Regions from separate parts of the Homo sapiens genome. Here all the other regions are linked to region 3. The links are contacts of gene promoters, found by promoter capture Hi-C in blood cells and fetal thymus (Javierre and others, 2016). All regions are on one chromosome and are shown on one strand. The core of a region is centred on a gene start or on the middle of the fragment in contact, and the rest is flanking DNA. Distances in the headings are between cores, read along the strand shown.

Region 1 (2,894 bases), core at 306-2,805, 120 kb after region 3:
GCTCCCTCTGACGATGCCAACTTCACTAAGGTTACAGCTGCTTCTGTTTCAGTCTCAGAATCTCGTATCCACTTCACTCACCCTTCCTAGACCCTCTGTGGCTGCTGACACCATGGCCTCACAGAACGCAGTGGGGGCTTCTCTGCCTCTCATCTGCATTGTCTGAACTACCAGCTAACTGGTTCTTAAAATCTTCTGGAAGCCCCAGTGCTCCACGTTGATGTGAGGAAGCAGCGACATGTTTGGGGAACTGCAAAGGGTCACATGGGAGCCTGCCTGAAGGACAAGTAGGACCAGAGCCCAGGAGGCCTCCACAGCATTGTAGATGACTCTGGCTTTAGATTGAAGGCCATGGGGAGTCAATGTATAGTTAAGTGAGATAGTAAGAGTGGATTGGGTTTCCATTCTGGGAAGATTGCCTAGACTGCAGGATGAAGGTAGAAAGACAGGGCAGCAAGAAAGTTAAACAGAAGTAGTGGGTACTGCCCAGGGGTAGATGCTTTTCATCCCATTAATGGAGTATAAACTAGTACCCTAATGTACTTCCATTTGCATTACTGGCTCCCACCTCCTTACCCAGAGCAGGGAATTGAGCAGAGTGCCACTCCTGCCCGTGTGTCTACCTTTTTTTCCTCCTGGCTCTTCATGCTTAACTCTAGACTCCTGTCCTCTGGCCCCTGAGCCGGGTCTCATACTTTGCACCTAAGCTAAAGCCCCTTACTGGCAATTCTTCATTAGACCCAGCCTGGGGTCTAGGATAAGCCCCCATATCTGAGAAACTCCACAGAATTCTACACTCACACTGTGTGGCTGGACTAATGACAGTGGCCTTGTCTTTCCACAGTACTTTAAAATTTGTAAAGTTCTTTTGCCCATGTTGGTTTATTTTATTTAGAATGAAATTGTATACACAATCACATTTTAGGCAGGATTTACATACAATAAAATGTATGTGTGCAGTCTGATGGGTATCACCAAACTTGCCCTTGTAACTACCCTCCACCCCAGTGAAGACATGAAAGCCTCTCCAGTAGTTCCCCTGGGCTGCTACGCAGCTCACTCCACGCTAGCCCCAGGCATCTCCACTCTCCCCTCCTGAAATGACAGGCAACACCCTGCTCACAACCCATTGAGTTCAGCATTCACTCAGCAACACCCAGGCTCAAGACAACAGGCAGAATAGTCCCCAGGGGTCAGATTTTCCCAGCAACAATTCTGCCTCATGGAAGGGGTTAGGATAAGGTACTGTTTCCATCAGACCCCCAAGCCCTTTTGACCCCTTCTCACTGCCTCAGCCAGGAAGACAAAAGGAGGGTGTAGGGTTCCTTTCTTTGTGCTCAAGACTGGGTTTAGCACGTCTGAGCTAAAAGTTTCTTGAACTAAATCTCCAAATAACCTTTAATCTGAAATATAAATTGAACCAAAGTAAAAACCACTTATCACTATGTGTCTTCAATGTACATTTTCAATATATATATAATAATTGTGCATATAATATTTATGGGGTACATGTGATATTTTGATACATGCATATAATATATAATGATCAAATCCAGGTAATTGGGATATTCGTCACCTCAGACTTTTATCAATTTTTTTGTATTGGGAACATCACAAATCTTCCTCTTTAGCTATTTTGAAATACAAAAATTATAGCCCACTGTGCTGTTGAACACAAGGACTTAGTCCTTCTATTGAAATGTATTTTTGTTACCCATTAACCAACCTCTCTTTATTCCTACCTCCCCCCACCTTAACTAATCTCCGTTAATCTCCATTCTACTCTTTATATCCATGAGATAAACTTTGTTAGCTCCCACATGAGTGAAAACATGGAATATTTGTCTTTTCATGCCTGGCTTATTTCACTTAACATACATTCATCATCTTTTCATGATAAACCCTTGACAAATGGGGTATAGAAGGAACACACCTCAAAACAATCAAGGTAATACATGACAAATCCACAGTTAACATCCAACTAACATCCAGCTTTTCCTCTAAGATCTGGTACAAGACAAGGATGTTCACTGTCACCACTTTTATTCAATGCAGTACTGAAAGTTCTAGCCCAAGCAATTAGACAAGAGAAAGAAATAAAGGACATTCAAAATAGAAAAAAAATAAGTCAGGCGGATGCAGTGGCTCATGCCTGTAATCCCAGCACTTTAGGAGGCTGAGGCAGGCAGATCACGAGGTCAGGAGATCGGGACCATCCTGGCTAACATGGTGAAACCCCGTCTCTACTAAAAAATACAAAGAAATTAGCCAGGCATGGTGGTGGGCGCCTGTAGTCCCAGCTACTCGGGAGGCTGAGGCAGGAGAATGGCATAAACCCAGGAGGTGGAGCTTGCAGTGAGCCAAGATGGCGCCACTGCACTCCAGCCTGGGTGACAGATCGAGACTCCATCTCAAATAAAAAGAAGAAAAAAAAATAAGTCAAATTGTCCTTGTTTGCAGATGACATGATCTTATATTTAGAAAAACCTTAAGAATACGCCAAAAACTGTTAGAATTGCTAAATGAACTCAGTAAAGTTGGAGGCTACAAATTCAACACGCAAAAATCAGTAGCATTTCTATTTGCTAATAGTGAACAATCTGAAAAAATCAAGAAAGCAGTTTAATTCATAATGACTACAAAAAAAAAAACCTAGAAATGAATTTAACCAGAGTTGAAAGAGCTCTACAATGAAAACTATAAAACACTAATGAAAGAACTTAAAGAGGGCACAGAAAAAAAAAATGAAAAGATATCCCGTGTTCATAGACTGGAAGAATTAATATTGTTAAAGTGTCTGTACTACTCAAAGCAATCTACAGATTCAATGCAATCCTTATCAAAATACCAATGACATTCTTCACAGATATAGAAAAAGCAATTAAATTCATATG
Region 2 (2,700 bases), core at 98-2,597, 67 kb before region 3:
TACATGTGTTATATAATGTCTCTGGCTACTTTCATGGTATAATGGAAGAGCTGAGTCATTGAGAGAGGGACCACATGGCTTGGAAAACTTAAAATATTTAACATTTAGCCCTTTGCAGAAAATATTTGCTGACTCTTGTTTTAAAAGATCTCTGTTTAGAATGCTACCTATTGCCTTCTGCATAGAATCACAACTCTACCACAATCGACACAGCTTCAGCCCTGCTTCTATATCCAGCATCATCTATTATTTCTGCTCCTCCTCCTTATTTTCCTTCTGGCCATGCTGATGGATTGTCAGCTTCCCAGATGTGCGAGAATCTCTCCTCCCTTCCCGACATTCTCATGCTCTCCCTCTGCCTCTCAAGAACTCCCTGTCCCATCTCTCATGACAAATCTCTTCTTCATTCTTTAAGATGCAGCCCCTTTGCTCCTTCCTTAAGGATGTCTGTCTGGCTCTATTTTGGGCGACATACTCCTTCTGCATCTCCCAGAGCCAGCCTTTGTGTGTCAGCTACAGCATTTCTTTGCATCTCTGTGCCATATATCACCAAATCTGCCTAAGCTTGCATGAGTCACTGCATGACAACTTCAGACTCCACTATCATTGTCTCCACTAACCACGAGGCTGAGACATTTGTCCAGTATGCTCGGGGTTGTGGGGTGGTAGCAGTAACCAGCTGGTGAGCATCATCTCTTATATCAGAATCAAATCTGTAGATCTCTGCCATTCATAGGTATTTGGAGTTTAAAATTAGCATAAAGATTTTCCTTAAAATAAGAACATATGGCTTGAGTAGGCTTTTGGAACATAGGATATTTCTGCTGGTTCATTTCAGTGTTCAGTATTCCCACATGAATCTAAACACGACTCTGCTCTTAGTAGCTGTGCGACCCTGGGAAAGTCACTCCATCTTCCTCAGCTAAATTTTGTTGTGTGAGTAATGAGAAGAGAGTTGTGGTTTGTGTTTAGTGAGTAATAACAAACAAAAGGCATTTAGCTTTCTGGAACCTGGTATGCAGTAGATCTTCATGAAATACTAGCTCTGTTGATAAAACTAGACCAAAAGAAGCTTTCAAAGTCAACAACAGTATCATGCAGTGAAGGACGTAGACGAGAAGCTGCTACTACAGCTTGCAGCTCCTGGAGGCCCATTTTGTCCATGACTTAGCAGGAATGCACTACCTTTCCATAAGGAGACACTGCCCACAGAAACCAAGGCCATTCTTTGAAGACAAATATGTTTTAATAGCCTTTACATTATGTAATAGTGTAATATAATTTATTAATAATAATGTAAAATTATTTACATTATTATGTTACAACTTTTGTACAGAGCTTTACACCTAGATATTCTGAAGTTGGTGGTCTGTGAGTGGCATCAAGTGATGACCGACACACTCTGACCTGGGGTAGAACAACACGTGTCCCTGCAGTTTGCTGAATTTCAGGGCATCACCACCTTTTTTCAGCTCCACAGAGAACAGCAGCACCTCGAGGGACAGATGTGCAAAAAGCAAGGTGGAGGCCCTTCTGCTGGAGAGGCGGCTGGGGAGGGTCCTTAGAGGAAGTGACAGCTGAGCTCTTCTCTGAAGGGTGAAGCTGAATTACTTGAAGCTTAGGGTGAAGGGGTGTCCAGAGAAGTGGAGCCTGTGAGCCAAAAGCATAATGACTTGTCCAGAGAAGTGTAACAAGTTCCATATTGTTTCTATGCCAAATCTGTACAGGAGTCACCAAAGGAAAGAGCAGGATCCTGGAGCCAGGGCCTTGGAACTCCCCCGCTGGCAATGGGAATGTTCACTGGGAATTTTGGGGGGCAAAATCTGAAAATGTTTCCTCTTAGCTCCAATTCTCTGTCTGTCTATTTCTGTCCCTCTCTCTTTCCCTTATTATCCTAAGAAAACACAGATGTCTCAGATGTGGGGATTAGCAGCCTGCCTCTTCCTGGATGACTTCAGGGGAGCACTTTGGCCTCTGTGAACTTATTTACAATAATTCACGAATCTCGCCAAAAAAAAAAAAAAAAAGTCATGGTAGCAGAGGTTAGAAAATATCCTAGTATTTCTTCTGATGCTTTGAATTTATGATTAATATGTTGAATCTTCATCTTCTGAAAAGCCACCGGTTGCACAGTGAGGACCATAAAGGGAGTCTGTTTCTGTGGTTTGTGGCTTCAACAGTCAGCGGTTTTGCAGCAATAGCATTACATGTGGGTTTTAGAATGATGATGCTCAACAGTGGACAATTCTCTTCCCCTGCCTGGGCCCCACTGCCCGCCCTTCCATACAGTGCGGGGTCACAGCTGAGCTCTCTGAGACACCTCGCAGGATCTCGGCTTCTGAACTATCAAGTGTCTTCTAGGTGAGGTCTTGGTCTCATAGTCTTTGTGGCTTCCTCCAGGTAACACTTGGTTTTTTGACCTAACCTTGGTATTTGTGTGACACACGTGTGAATGTGCTCCCTGTGGCAGCGCTGAGGAAGGACTCAGTCATCACAGATGCCAAAAGGCAAATGCAATGTGCTTTTTTCCAACATATCCAGTCTTGCATTTTTACCCATCAGCCCATTTGAAAAAGAAAAAAAAAAGCCCTCCGTTAGAATTAAATCCCCTCTGGAGATAATGTGTATTTTTTACATCTTTCACTTTTTTTATAGTCACATTTGCTCCCAGTGCCTGCCAGAATCCACTAGAGGGCAGAG
Region 3 (2,791 bases), core at 292-2,791:
AGAAGCAGAGGGAGATTTGACACAGAAGGAGGCAATGTGACCTCAGAGACAGAGATTGGAGTGACGTGGCCACAAGTCAGAGAATGCTGGCCACCATTAGAAGCTAGAAGAAGCAAGGAAAGGATTCTCCCCTAGAGCCCTTACAATGGCCTGTGGCCCTGCTGATGCCTTGGCCTCCAGAACTGTGAGAAAATAAATTTGAGTAAAGGGAGCAAGTTTGTGGCTGAAAACAACACACAACACAATTTGTTACAACAATTACAGAAAATTAATACCAGTGGCTTGGAGTAGGGTTTTAGCAGTTGAGAGGGTCAGAAGTGATTGGATTTAAGATAAATTTTTGGAGACAGGACCAACAAGATTTGCTGATGTATATGGTTTAGGTATCATAAAAGGCAAAGAATCAAGGCTGATTCCCTTTTTTCTGAACAAGTGGGTGGATGATGACATAGTTTACTGGCATGGGGGAGGGTACAGGCGTTATTGTTATATGTTTGCCATATTTATGTTGGAGAAAATATCAGCTATCATGTGTCAGCGCTCTCTACATGCCAGGCACTGTCCTACATTCTTTACACGTGTTAGCTCAGTTAACACATGTAAGTCAAGCGGGCAGTAAGATATATGACTGGAGTTGAAAGAGGGCTAGGCTAGGAGCCATCAGTGTATTTAAAGCCATGGAACTAATTAGATCACCCAGGAGAACATATGCAGACGAGAGAAGATCTGGTTCAAGGCCTGAGCCAGGGCACACTTCATCTTTTGGCAGAACAGAGGGAATGGATCCAAAAAAAGGATAGAAGGAGCCAGTGAGGAGGGTGGAAAACCTGGAGCATATGAAGTCACAGAAGTAAAACTGGGGCCCAAAATGTAGAGGGAGCCATAAAGATGAGGAGGACGAGAGCTACATAGTCGCGCTCTTTCTAGGGCAGAGAGGCGGACGGAACTGACAGCTGCTATGTAGCAATATGACCGTCTCAAGTGACCTTGTGAAGCGCCACTGCAGTGGCTGGGTGGGGAGGAAAGCTCCATCAGAGCCATTTGAAGAGAAGAGGATGGGAAGTGAGCGTACACAGAGAATGCAGGCAACTTTTAGGAGGAATTCTGATGGTAATAGAAGTGGGCTGTAGCTGGTGGGACTCTGCGGTCCACAGAGGGCTCTAGCTGGACCCTCTGTGGGTCTTTCAAAGTGACTGATTCTGCATCATGTTTGCGGGTGGCAACTGTGAGGGGGAAATCGAAGGTGAATACAAAACGGGAACAAGTGAAGAGGCAACGTCCCCATACAGGCCGGGTGGGCTGGGGTTGGAGCACAGGAGGCCTGACCCTGTCTCTTCCACTTTCCCTCAAACCTTTGGTCACCAAGCGCAGACGCTCACCACAGAAGCCACCCAACCACAACTGCCGCGGGGCTCCGCGACACGCGCGGGCGACTTGAGTCGGGCAACCACGATTCCCGGCGGGCGTTGCGCGGGGCACCCAGTGCGCAGGCGCACGGCGTCGGCCTCCGACTCGCCCCTCCCTCTGGGGCGCGGGCCTCAGTTCCGGGCTACAGCAGCCGACGCCGAGAGGCACCGTTTCTTCTTAAAAGAGAAACGCTGCGCGCGCGAGGTGGGCCCCTGTCTTCCAGCAGCTCCGGGCCTGCTCGCTAGGCCCGGGAGGCGCAGGCGCAGGCGCAGTGGGGGTGAGGGCGCGTGGGGGCGCACAGGTAAGGCCGGGGTGGGGGTGGGTCGCGACGGGGGCTCTGGGCAGCCTGGGAACTGCCATTGGGATTAGTCCGCTCCACTCACTGTCAGCATTAAGTGGGGGTGCCCAAGACGGGGTGGATGGGGGGCGCCCTCCAGACCTCTGACCACGGCCTCACCGCCACTCGACCCAACTATGAAGAGCGCCCCCAGCTGCACGCCAGGACACGACCTTTCCTTCCCCTAGAAACCAGTAAAGGCCGCTGCCCTATTCAAGATGAAATGTGTGGACCGCCCCCAGCCCAGTTGAAATTTCCCGTGAAAGTCTCTCGCCCCTTCCCCACAGCTCCACTTCAGTGGACTGGAGGGCGCAGGCCTTTGTTCTGACTGCTTCTGTCTGCCTGCCTCCCACCCGACGACACTCACATGGTAGCGCTGAGCTTCAACACCCTGTATCATAGAAGGACGGGGTTTGGCTCCACACCTGCCACTGCTATTGAAATAGTTTAGTCTTGCCCCAGTTCACTGATGAGGAAACTGAGGCCCTAACGGCAGGTGGAGCCGGGTCCCCGACCCCCGAGATCGGCAGGGCGCTGAAGACGTCCCTTCCACCCTCCAGCCTCTGGTGCACATGGCTTCCTCCCCGGCGGTGGACGTGTCCTGCAGGCGGCGGGAGAAGCGGCGGCAGCTGGACGCGCGCCGCAGCAAGTGCCGCATCCGCCTGGGCGGCCACATGGAGCAGTGGTGCCTCCTCAAGGAGCGGCTGGGCTTCTCCCTGCACTCGCAGCTCGCCAAGTTCCTGTTGGACCGGTTAGGGGCCGGGAGAAGGGCTTGGGGGAGGGTACCCAGGCAGCAGCCCCTAGCCTCCTCTCCAGGGCCTGTCCTGCTGCTCTTTTCCACCCTCAGGTTTCTCACTTTACCAGGACGGCCTGTGTGACTTGTGGCCTCCGAGGGTCCTGCTCCCCTCCTCATGGTCTCAGCGAATAGCGGCCCTTAGGGCTGGCCCCTTACATGTGTGAGTGCCCAGGGCTGAGGGTGGCTGGCCACCTGAGTCCTGACCTGCCTCTTCTCCTGCTGGCAGGTACACTTCTTCAGGCTGTGTCCTC

Evidence for each region. Contacts are between HindIII fragments. The CHiCAGO score rates a contact against its expected background, and 5 or more counts as called.
Region 1: a fragment that was not itself captured here is called in contact with the fragment with the promoter of ZNF692 in region 3 in 5 of 17 cell types (neutrophils, M2 macrophages, monocytes and 2 more); the score reaches 13.3 in neutrophils.
Region 2: a contact is called between a fragment that was not itself captured here and the fragment with the promoter of ZNF692 in region 3, in 2 of 17 cell types (erythroblasts and fetal thymus). The highest score is 7.5, in erythroblasts.

What each region holds. Positions count from the first base shown.
Region 1 is chr1:248,734,535-248,737,428 of GRCh38, reverse strand. No RefSeq gene overlaps it. Among named protein-coding and RNA genes, the nearest start is that of LYPD8, 20 kb to the left of the region's middle. The HindIII fragment of the contact is 3,366 bases long and covers 1-2,894 here.
Region 2 is chr1:248,924,898-248,927,597 of GRCh38, reverse strand. It overlaps a transcript of PGBD2 not described here. Among named protein-coding and RNA genes, the nearest start is that of PGBD2, 20 kb to the right of the region's middle. RefSeq lists a silencer at 2,086-2,255. The HindIII fragment of the contact is 545 bases long and covers 1,075-1,619 here.
Region 3 is chr1:248,857,835-248,860,625 of GRCh38, reverse strand. ZNF692 (zinc finger protein 692) reads left to right here and starts at 1,541. Exons shown (of 12, transcript NM_017865.4): 1 at 1,541-1,708; 2 at 2,305-2,495; 3 at 2,767-2,791. The coding sequence starts at 2,317. It overlaps ZNF692-DT (ZNF692 divergent transcript), which reads right to left and starts at 1,462. Exons shown (of 3, transcript NR_186117.1): 1 at 1,380-1,462. RefSeq lists enhancers at 1,057-1,206, 2,007-2,056, 2,657-2,736 and a silencer at 1,347-1,846. The HindIII fragment of the contact is 15,686 bases long and covers 1-2,791 here.